Linked DNA regions of Homo sapiens: region 2 is linked to region 1. Evidence: promoter capture Hi-C in human tissues and cell types (Jung and others, 2019). All regions are on one chromosome and are shown on one strand. The core of a region is centred on a gene start or on the middle of the fragment in contact, and the rest is flanking DNA. Distances in the headings are between cores, read along the strand shown.

Region 1 (5,047 bases), core at 1,710-4,209:
TGCAGCCCAACTGGGTTCCACTGTGTGGTGCTTTGAGAAGGGGAGGGAGCTGGCAGACAGAGGAGGCAGAGCAGAAACTGGGTAAGAGGAAGGGGAGAGGTGCCTGGTTGCTTGTTCCAAGGCTCACCCCAAGCCCCTTCACTGTGGCCTGGGAAGGCAGGTGTGGGCCAGCCCTGACTCCAACCACCATTGAGGGATTGTGCCTTCCAGGAGTTGCACAGGCAGCTCATCTTTCGGAGGAAGAAAATTCGTGCCTGGGTTGGGGACGACCTCTGTTCCATTTTAAAATATTTTCCTTGGCTCCCAGGAAGGATTTGTTAGACTCTTCCTGAGGTTTTGACAAACTCTCTGTATTTTTCAAATACTTAAGTATCTATTCGGCTGACATCTTAATCAGTACGACTGTCAGAACATCACTTGAATTTCTGACAGGTGACACCCAAAAAAGCAAAAGCAGGTTTATTTGTAGGTAACCAGCTCTGCTCATGCTGGGCTACATTGTAATTTCTCCTCGTATTAACTTCTGATCAAATTCCTGAGTCAGATGCCTAGGCAAGAAGGAAACTCACAGAGCACATGTTTCTAGTTCTGAGATGAGGAGCCTATGCCCCGGGGGGAGTGATGTGCTGACACTCACGGCTGGAGGGTTGGCAAGAGGACACGCAGGACTTGTTCCTGGCTGAAGAAATTTTATCGAAACATTCAGCCTAGGTCACACACAGCTCTGCCTGCTGCCAGGGTTTCTCTTGTCCTTCTCTGTTGCTGCTCCTGCCCATGGCATGAGGAGTTTGTGGGTTAAGGGCACTTGCCACTCCAGGTGCCCAAGATGCCAGATATTCTCTGTGCAAATGGCCCCAAGTCCATCCCCAGGGTCTGTACACCTCTTCCCAGGCCCAACCTCCTGAGGACTTTTAGGCCAGAGAAGTATATGTCTGTGCAGGGCAGGGCTGCAATGCAGGTAGGCAGGAGGGTGACCATCCAGGGTGTTGAGGGCCCCATGGAGTGGGATGGAGCTGAGGGGGCCAGAAAAGGGGGACAGGTTGTGGCTCGGGCTGGAAGTGGCTCCCCCGTACCAGCGCATTCTAGCCAAGTTGCCTTAGAATTTCTCAATTTACACATGGCCTTTCAGGTTGTGAGGAAGATATGTCAAGATAAGAGGATAGAAACTATTTTATTTAACTGTTCTTATAGCTTGACTGATGACTTTTATATATCTAGACATAGGAAATGTGACCCTCATCCTCTTGTTCCAAGACCCACAGGTGTTACGGGCAGACCGTCACTCAGCACCTGGAGTGACAGGATCGGACAGAAGGGAAGCAGAAATGGCAGGGCCTGCGTGCATTTCTGGTGTGGTCCTAGCATTTCTTTGCCTCTCAAGCTGTGGTGGCTGAATCGTCAGCCCTCCCAGGCAGGAAGTGTTCCCAAAGTCCCGCTGACTTTCTATTCTATTCAGGCTTTAAACATTTCCCGAAGTGGTGGGCCCCACAGGGTATTCAGAGAGCAGAGCTGGTCAGATGTGGTGGTTGCAGAACTGACTAGAAATGGTGGGCTCCTTGGGTCTGGCCGAGTCAAGTCCTGGAAACTCAAGGCCAGTCCAGGTTGTTTTCCCCATTGGGTGTGGAATCCTCGATCATGCTTGTCTTTCTCTCCTCCCTCCTACCCACAACAGGCAAAGATGGAAAGGTAGGATGGGGTGAGGTGGTGGGAGTGGGGATCTGCTTCTCGCTTGTCTTCCAGTTTAGCCTCCTGCTTCAAATCCTGCCACATCCCGAATTCAGTCAAAGGCTATTTCTTGAGTAAACACTTCTCAGGTAAAATGAGGAAGGAAACATACCTCCACCTCCTGCCACCTGGCTGCTTCTACTCCTTCCAGCTTTCTCGCAGAACTTACGATTGCCTGTTAGAGCCACACATGCTGATGTTCCCACAAAAGCCGTCTGTCACCCTGTCTCACCCATCACTTCATTACTGAGACCAACCTGACAGCCACATGGATGGAGGAGACACCAGTGGAGTCCCTGGCATGTGTGAGCACATTTCTATGATGGAGTCTCATTCGGAAAAAGCGAAACTGGCCAGGCACGGTGGCTCATGCCTGTAATCCCAGCACTTTGGGAGGCCGAGGAGGGTGGGTAACCTGAGGTCAGGAGTTTGAGCCTGACCAACATGGTGAAACACTGTCTCTACTAAAAAATACAAAATTTGCCAGGTGTGGTGGCAGGTGCCTGTAATCTCAGCTACTTGGGAGGCTGAGGCAGGAGAATCACTTGAACCTAGGAGGCAGAGCTTGCAGTGAGCCGAGATCACGCCACTGCACTCCAGCCTGGGCAACAGAGCGAGACTCCGTCTCAAAAAAAAAAAAAAAAAAAAAAAAAAAAAAAAAAAAAAAAAGAGAAGAAAAGAAAAAAGAAAAAGTGAAATTGTCCCACATCACACAAAAGAACATCATTTCCCTAAAAGAGCATTTCTTAGGGCAGGAAGTGACCTCAGAGGCCTCTGGGACCCTGAATCTGTTCCCCTCCGCCCTTTGACATGCAGGAAACAGTCCTGCGGCCATGTCCTCACACTGCTTGATGTCCGGGTGGTGCTAGGACAGAAGGCTCCTGAGGGAAGAGAGAAAGGTTTGATTTCTCCTACCCGCCCACCAGGCCTGGGCCGACTTCCCATTGCTCACTCACCGAGGTATCCTGGGGAGTGGCCCCTTTCGGCAGCCCTCTCTCCTCTGCCGCCTTCCCGGCCATGGGGCCCACAGGTCTGTGACCCTGGGCTGCAGCTCTCTTAGACCCAGCTGCTGCCTGCCAGGGCCAGTGTCTTCACTCTGTTTCCTGGAGCAGGGACACCTCGGCCTCCTGCCCTGGGCCCGTCTCTCCCAGCATTCCTTGCTGGCAAGCCCACCTACAAACGTGTGTGTTCTGCCCACTGTCAAGATAAGGACGCGCTGGCTAAAGGTACATCAGATAATGGTCTCCGTGGCCAAGTCCCAGTCCTGCTGTCCCAAGGGACTCCGGGGTCAGGTGGAGCAGGCAGGGCAGTCTGCCACGGGCTCCCCAACTGAAGCCACTCTGGGGAGGGTCCGGCCACCAGAAAATTTGCCCAGCTTTGCTGCCTGTTGGCCATGGGTGACCTCTCATCTTTGACCCCCGGAGGGTCCATGGGTCTCCAAGTAAACAGAGGCTCCCAGAGCTCCCTGGAGGGGGCTCCTGCCACCGCCCCGGAGCCTCACAGCCTGGGCATCCTCCATGCCTCCTACAGCGTCAGGTAAGGCAGAGCCCTTGCTGCTGCTGCTCCCCCAGGAGTGCGGGGCCCGGCGCTCACCCCTCTGCTGCCTTTCTTCACTCTTTAAGTGCCAGTCTGGGCACTTCGGGCTCCCTCTTTAGTGGATCGGGTGGAGAGAGGAGAGGGAGAAGGGCTGTGCTGGGAAACATGGAGCGACAGTGAATGGCCCCTCCCCCTGCCCAGGGAAGGGCCTGGGCATAAACAAAGTGGCAGCAGTGCCCTGCCAACCCAGTGTCTACGGCCTGCCCTCTGTGGATGGGAATGGGGGTACTGCGAATGCAAGGAGTCTTGAAACCTGGTGAAAGAATGCAGGGACAGCCACCTCGCAGCCAAACGGACAGGACATTCAGAGCAACTCCAGCACAGGCCCCCTCCCTACGTGGCAGACAGCCTCAGTCGCTATCTGCCAGGTTCTACAGAGGAGGGCGCAGAGACTGAAACACGTTAGGAGCCTGTCCGGAGACTACTGGGGTGGGGCACAGGTAGGATCAATGCTGGGGACCTGGGTGTGGCCCCTTCCAGGGCCCCAAGCTGCCTTTGCCTTCCTGGGGTTTCCTTTAAAGCCACCGCGTGAGGCCCTGGTGGGACATCACATCTTGCCGGCAGCAGTGGACCAGGCAGATCCTCAAAGATGTCTCCTTGTACGTGGAGAGCGGGCAGATCATGTGCATCCTAGGAAGCTCAGGTAAGCTTGGGAAGGAGGATTCTAAAAAGGATTTGGCTTGAGTTAAACTCCACATTGAAGAAACAGATTAAGTTGTAACAAGAAAGCCACAGGTTTGATATTAGAATGAATTCTATTGATATCTGACTGTGAATGGAACTGCTACCAATGTGAAATCTTTAGAAAGATCCTTGAAAGAGTATAAAATTCTGCCTAACATGTACGTGAATTCATATTTCAAAATATAAAAAGCCCCCACAGTTCCATGGCATATAAAAGTACTCAGGAAACACAATTTCCCCTATCTGTACACTGCCTAGAGACAGGAAAAGGATTAAATAAGCACAAAAATGCCCATTAAGCCCCTATCTTTGATTCCAGTGGTGCTTTTTTATGATGGTATATTTTGGACATACAATCAAGAATAGAGAATAGGCTGGTCACAGTGGCTTATGACTGTAATCCCAGCAGCTTGAGAGGCTGAGGTGAGAGGATTGCTTGAGCCCAGGAGTTCGAGAGCAACCTAAGCAACATAGTGGGACCCCATCTCTACAAAAACATACAAAAGTTAGCCAGGCATGGTGGTGCATGTCTGCGGTCCCAGCTACTTGGGAGGCTGAGGTGGGAGGATTGCTTGAGCCCAGGAGATTAAGACTTCAGTGAGCTGAGATAGTGCCACTGCACTCTAGCCTGGGCAACAGAGCAAGACCCTGTCTCAAAAAAAAAAAAAAAAAGACTGGAGAATAATATTTAAAAGTTCATGTATTAACATCGGGCCTTATCAGATCTTATCTGGTCGTTTTTCTTTTCTTTTTTTTTCTTTTTTGAGACAGAGTCTCACTCTGTCACTTAGGCTGGAGTGCAGTGGTGCGATCTTGGCTCACTGCATCCTTAACCTCCTGAGCTCAAGTGATCCTCCCACCTCAGCTGGGACTACAGGTGCACACCACCATGTCCGGCTAATTTATTTTTATTTTTATCTTTTTTTGTAGAGACAGCGTTCTTGCTATGTTTCCCAGACTCTTTTTCTTTTTTAAGGAATTAAACATTACAAATTGCACTGAGGTCATCCACTGCCCGTTCTCCACATCATCCTTCTCCTCC
Region 2 (5,047 bases), core at 564-3,063, 36 kb after region 1:
TAGACCCACATACAGCATTAATATGGAAAAACTACTAAGGTATATTGGTATATTGAATTAAAAGGTACTGAATAATAGGGTATATTGAATAAAAAGGGGAAATTCCAAAATGATATAGACTGAACACATAATTACATTAAAGCAAATAGTTTTTTTACACTATATACACATGTGTGTAAAGGCATAGGAAATTGGAAAGAACACAAATTTGCTCCTTGTATGTACTCTTTTACCTTTTTACAAGGAGATATCTTTATGTGTTACTTGTATAATTTAATTTGAAAAATTTAAAACTTTGCTGCCATTTGCAATTTGTAACTGGATATTTCCCATCTTTCTATTTCCAACAACTGTATTGTTCCCCAAAACTGTTTTACTGGTGATCTTCCAGGACATCCTTACCACTTTGGTGCGAAAGCCATTGATACGCTCCACTGATGTTATTCAGCTTTGCCAAGTTTTACTTGTATTCCTTTGTGTGTCTGTGTGTATATTAAGTTCTATACAATTTTATCACCTGCATAGGTTCATGTATTTGCTACCACAGTCGAGACACCAACTTAATTCCACTAGCACAAAGATCCTGTGTTGCCGTTTTATAGACATAACCTCCTCCTTCCCGACCCCTCCCCTGGTCTCCCCATCCATAGTTCTATCCCTGCCCTCTGACCACCACTAATCTGCCTCCATTTCTAAAATGTTTTTCATTTCAAAATTTTTTATAAATAGAATCACACTGTATGTAATCTTTTCTAATTGGCTGCTTTTCACTCAGCATGATTCCCTGGAGATTCATCCAGTCTGTGTGTATCAATTATTTGTTCCTTTGTATGACTGAGTAGTGTTTCCTGGTACAGATGTACCACAGTTGTTTAGTCACTCACCTGCTGAACAACTTCTGGGCTGTTTCTAGGTTTTGACTACTAAACATAAAGCTGCCATGAACATATGCCTAGAGATTTTTTGTGTGAGAGTTAAGTTTTCATTTATCTTGGATAAATGCCCAACAGCACAATTTCTAGGTCATATGGTAGTTGCATGTTTAGTTTCGTAAGAAACTGTTAAACTGTTTTCTAGAGTGGCTGTACCATTTTACACTCCCACCACCAATGTATGAGAGATCTGGTTTCTCTGCATCCTTGCCAGTATTTGGTGGTGTCACTATTTTTTATTTTAGCTATCCTGTTAAATGTATAGTGATATTTCATTGTGGTTTCAATTTGCATTTCCCTAACAACTAATGATATTAAACACCTTTTCATGTGCTGCTTTGCTATGTTTATGTCCTCTCTGAAATGAAATGTCTGCTTATGTCTTTTGCCCACTTTCTAATTGGATTATTTATTTTTCTGTTGAGTTTATATATTCTAAACACTAGTCCTTTGTCATATATGTGGTTTGAAATTCTTTTCTCCCACACTATGGCACGTCTATTCATCTTCACATGGGCTTTCATAGAGCAAAAGTTTTTAATTCCGATGAGATCTAGGCGCCATGATTTTTAAATTCAGCAATTATGAACTCTCTTCTGGCCTCCAACTATTCATAGAAGCAAAAGAATTCCATCAGCATTATCTATCAGTACAACAGTGATTCTCACTGCTACTGGAATTAAGTTGGTGCTAATTATAATCATAAACATCAGTCTCCATGACCATTCACTAAGCAAAATCACCTCCATTCCTTTCATTCCAATTAATCTATAATCTCATTACAAAGATTTCTATATTTGAAGTCAAGTCACCTTTAGCTTGTAAGACTAACAGAGGATGGGAAATACAAAAAAAAAAAAAAAACCCTACTGCCCATTAGAGTTTTAAAAGCAAACTACGCCACCTGCAGAGGATAAAGAAGTGCGAGGCTCAAAGATCTTCACAATGAAAACAGTTTCTGTGGGAAGGTAAGGGCCTTGAGATATAAACTCTTAAACTTCCTTTTGATTCAGAAGCCTATAGAGTCTATGAGTTTAGGAAATACATTCCATTAGATGAGGCATGCTATTTCATAACAAAAAATCAAATCATACCTAATTGTTACAACTGTGTTCTTTTTGGTTTACTCTACCACTTCAGTCTCTCATATACTTGCTAATTGCCTGTAATATGTAGCTTTGAATTTCCTCACTACTCTATGCTCCTAGCTTCTTTAAAGCCAAGGAGCTAAAATTTAAAAGTACCTGGAAATCAGTTGGGGAAAGAAAATACTTGCAATTTGTTTTTCAGTGGAATAGAGATCAGAAATGAAAAATCAGTCTCTTATGTGGTGACATCACTTCCATCACAAACATGTCAATGTGATGCATGTTACATTAATACTGGGCATATAAACAAACACACAGGAAATAACAGCAATGATAATGAAACCAGAAATAGGAGTATGTTGGAGACAAAGTGAACATGGAGTAGGACAAAATCAATAAGCAATTAAAAAAAGATTGAACAATCTTAATAAGTTCACTAACCTATTTGACCGAAAGAATCCAATCCTGCTGTGATAAACAGCGGTTTATTCTGATCCACACATATTGATTTGCTACGTGGAGAAGAGAAAGATTCTAAATTAGTTTAGCAATTAGATTTGCTGCCACGCTCTCCTGTAAATATGACAGCAATATTATCGGCTAGTTTTACATTTAGCCACTAATGAGAGCATTGCCCCGAATGAATGAGTGACTATCAATTTAAGTGATTTCAAAAATTAACATATAGCATAAATAAACATTTTATAGGAAAAAAAGTGACAGACCCTATTACCTTAAATCAAAACCAAGAGAAGTAGCAAGGCTAAGAAGATACATACCAAAATTTTCAATTCCATTTCAAATCAGTAAAAGAAAGTGATAGTAGAGGGAAGCTACTGAAGTGTGGGAAAGGAAGTAAAAGAAATCAGGGAGCTAGTATAATATTATCATTATTTTATTCCAGCCTCAAACTAAATGTTATGTAACATTTTGGTTGTAAAATTTAAGAAATATTTAAAGAATATAAGAAGCAGGAAATAATATGAAATTATCCCCTTTATGTTGAGTCTTGACAAAATAAATAATAATATTAATAATTAAAAATAATAATAAAATAAATAATAAAATAAATAAAATAATAATAATTTAAAAAGAAATTATCCCTTTAAGAAAAGCCATCTGGGTCACTTTCCTGGTCAAGACACAAGAGACTGAGTAGAACAATAATCAGATGAGACAACATTGGCTAAATCAATCACTCAATAAATGATATAAAAAATATCTTAGCAGTACCTTTTGTCAATGCCAAATGCCAACTGGTTGATAACTCCACGTATTTTTAGTAATAGAGCTTCTGATTTACTGGTAAACTTTAAACAAATCAGGAGAACAAATTACATGCTCTATTTTCCAATCACAGAAACAGGTAAAATAAATATGGCTTTGAACAAATACAGATTACAAAGAGAATCACTGTTTTGTTGCCCAGCAAATACTTCTGTTTGAGTAGACAAAACAAAACCTGAATAAAGAAATCTTGGTAACTTTAACTCGTTCTTCAAACTTAATGAGTACATGATGTGGAAAGGACTTGTGTTTATGTACTCATCATTTCAGCTACTCACACAAATGGACCATAATCACTGTCAAATAATTTCTTTAAAATATATATATATGAATGTATGTTTATGGGCTGTATGTGTGTAAACATACTCATTATGGTCTAAAAGAAAATTTTCCAAAATGCAGTTGGGTTGGTTAGAAAATAAGAGGTATACCTCAAAAGTAGCTTTCACATCCAAGGGCGTATTGCTGCCTTCCAAAGAGTCACTGTGGGACTGCAGACTGGTCTAATGATGCTGATACTCACTAAGGTAATTTTTTAACTTCTTTTTAAATTGCTTTTGGTGCCTAAGCTACTGAATATTTTCAGTGCTGGTATATAACTAGGGAAACCAGAACCAGAACATTTCAGAGAATGAAAGGGGTTGGGTACTATTAATAATTAAGCTGTGACATCAGATGAATACCAGGACATATGGTTACCCTACAGATCTTTAAAAGCTAGATTGGATTTCTGTAGATACCAAAAGTCATTCACAGCCAAGTCAAAATGACTAAGAGGTATGGAAGTGGGAAAAACAACTTTGAACTGAAATGAAATCTAATTGTGAAGCAAAGGTATCAGCGTTATGGTTCCAATGGTAATTCCACAAGATAAGCCTCATTCTGGATTAAGAACAGAAAGTTCTTAATGCTCTCAGAGAAAGTATTCAAATGAGAATACTCATGTATATGTAAGATCTGACACATTTATTAAAGAAAGCATTGAAATAATTGTAATGCTTCTACTGAGACCATGTTTTAAAATACATACAGAAAACTTTAACTGAATTTTAGAAATATAACTGCTCTGTTTAATTTTATTTTCTTTATGAGAAAGGAAAAACCTAATCACAAACATATTTCATAGAAGATAGGGCTGGGAGAACATTAGATGTTTTCTAACCCAACTCCTCCATCTGCTGCATCAATCACTTCTAAAACATCCTTCACAAAGAACTGTAGGCCTTCTGCTTAAACAAACTCAATGCCTGGAAACTCATCTCCCCAAATAATTCATTGTTTTCAGATAATGGTAGTATTAGAATGTGCTTTCATATTTTGAGTAAACTCTATTGATTCCTTTTTCTGGACCTTAGAATAGCAAAGAATGAATTTAGTCACTTTTCCATGGAACATTCCTTCAACTATATTAGAGAGTTATCACATTTTAGGTGATATTCTCCTGGTCCTCATATATAATAATTTTAAGTCCCTGCCATCCTCATGGCTCTTCTCTGATTCTGGTTCTACTTATCAGTCTTCTCCTGTTCTTTTGGGGGGCGAGGAGCATATTGGTTTTTTAAGAGATGGGGTCTCGCTCTGCTTCCCAGGCTGGAGTGCAGCAGTGTGATCATAACTCACTGCAGCCTCAAACTGCCAGGCTCAGGCAATCGTCCCTGCCTCAGCCTCCTAAGTAGCTAGGATCACAGGCATGCACTATGATGACTGGCTAATTAAAAAAATTTTTTGTCAAGACAAGGT

What was found. The method cuts DNA at HindIII sites, captures the fragments that hold promoters and counts their contacts. A contact is called where the count stands out against the background at its distance.
Region 2: a contact is called between a fragment that was not itself captured here and the fragment with the promoter of ABCG5 in region 1, in 1 of the 25 tissues and cell types used here (liver).

What each region holds. Positions count from the first base shown.
Region 1 is chr2:43,836,751-43,841,797 of GRCh38, reverse strand. ABCG5 (ATP binding cassette subfamily G member 5) reads left to right here and starts at 2,959. Exons shown (of 13, transcript NM_022436.3): 1 at 2,959-3,261; 2 at 3,843-3,964. The coding sequence starts at 3,119. It overlaps ABCG8 (ATP binding cassette subfamily G member 8), which reads right to left and starts at 2,827. Exons shown (of 13, transcript NM_022437.3): 1 at 2,682-2,827. The coding sequence starts at 2,744. The HindIII fragment of the contact is 5,779 bases long and covers 1-4,641 here.
Region 2 is chr2:43,799,124-43,804,170 of GRCh38, reverse strand. DYNC2LI1 (dynein cytoplasmic 2 light intermediate chain 1) reads right to left here. Exons shown (of 13, transcript NM_016008.4): 9 at 3,254-3,330; 10 at 2,462-2,532. Among named protein-coding and RNA genes, the nearest start is that of DYNC2LI1, 28 kb to the right of the region's middle. The HindIII fragment of the contact is 9,891 bases long and covers 1-5,047 here.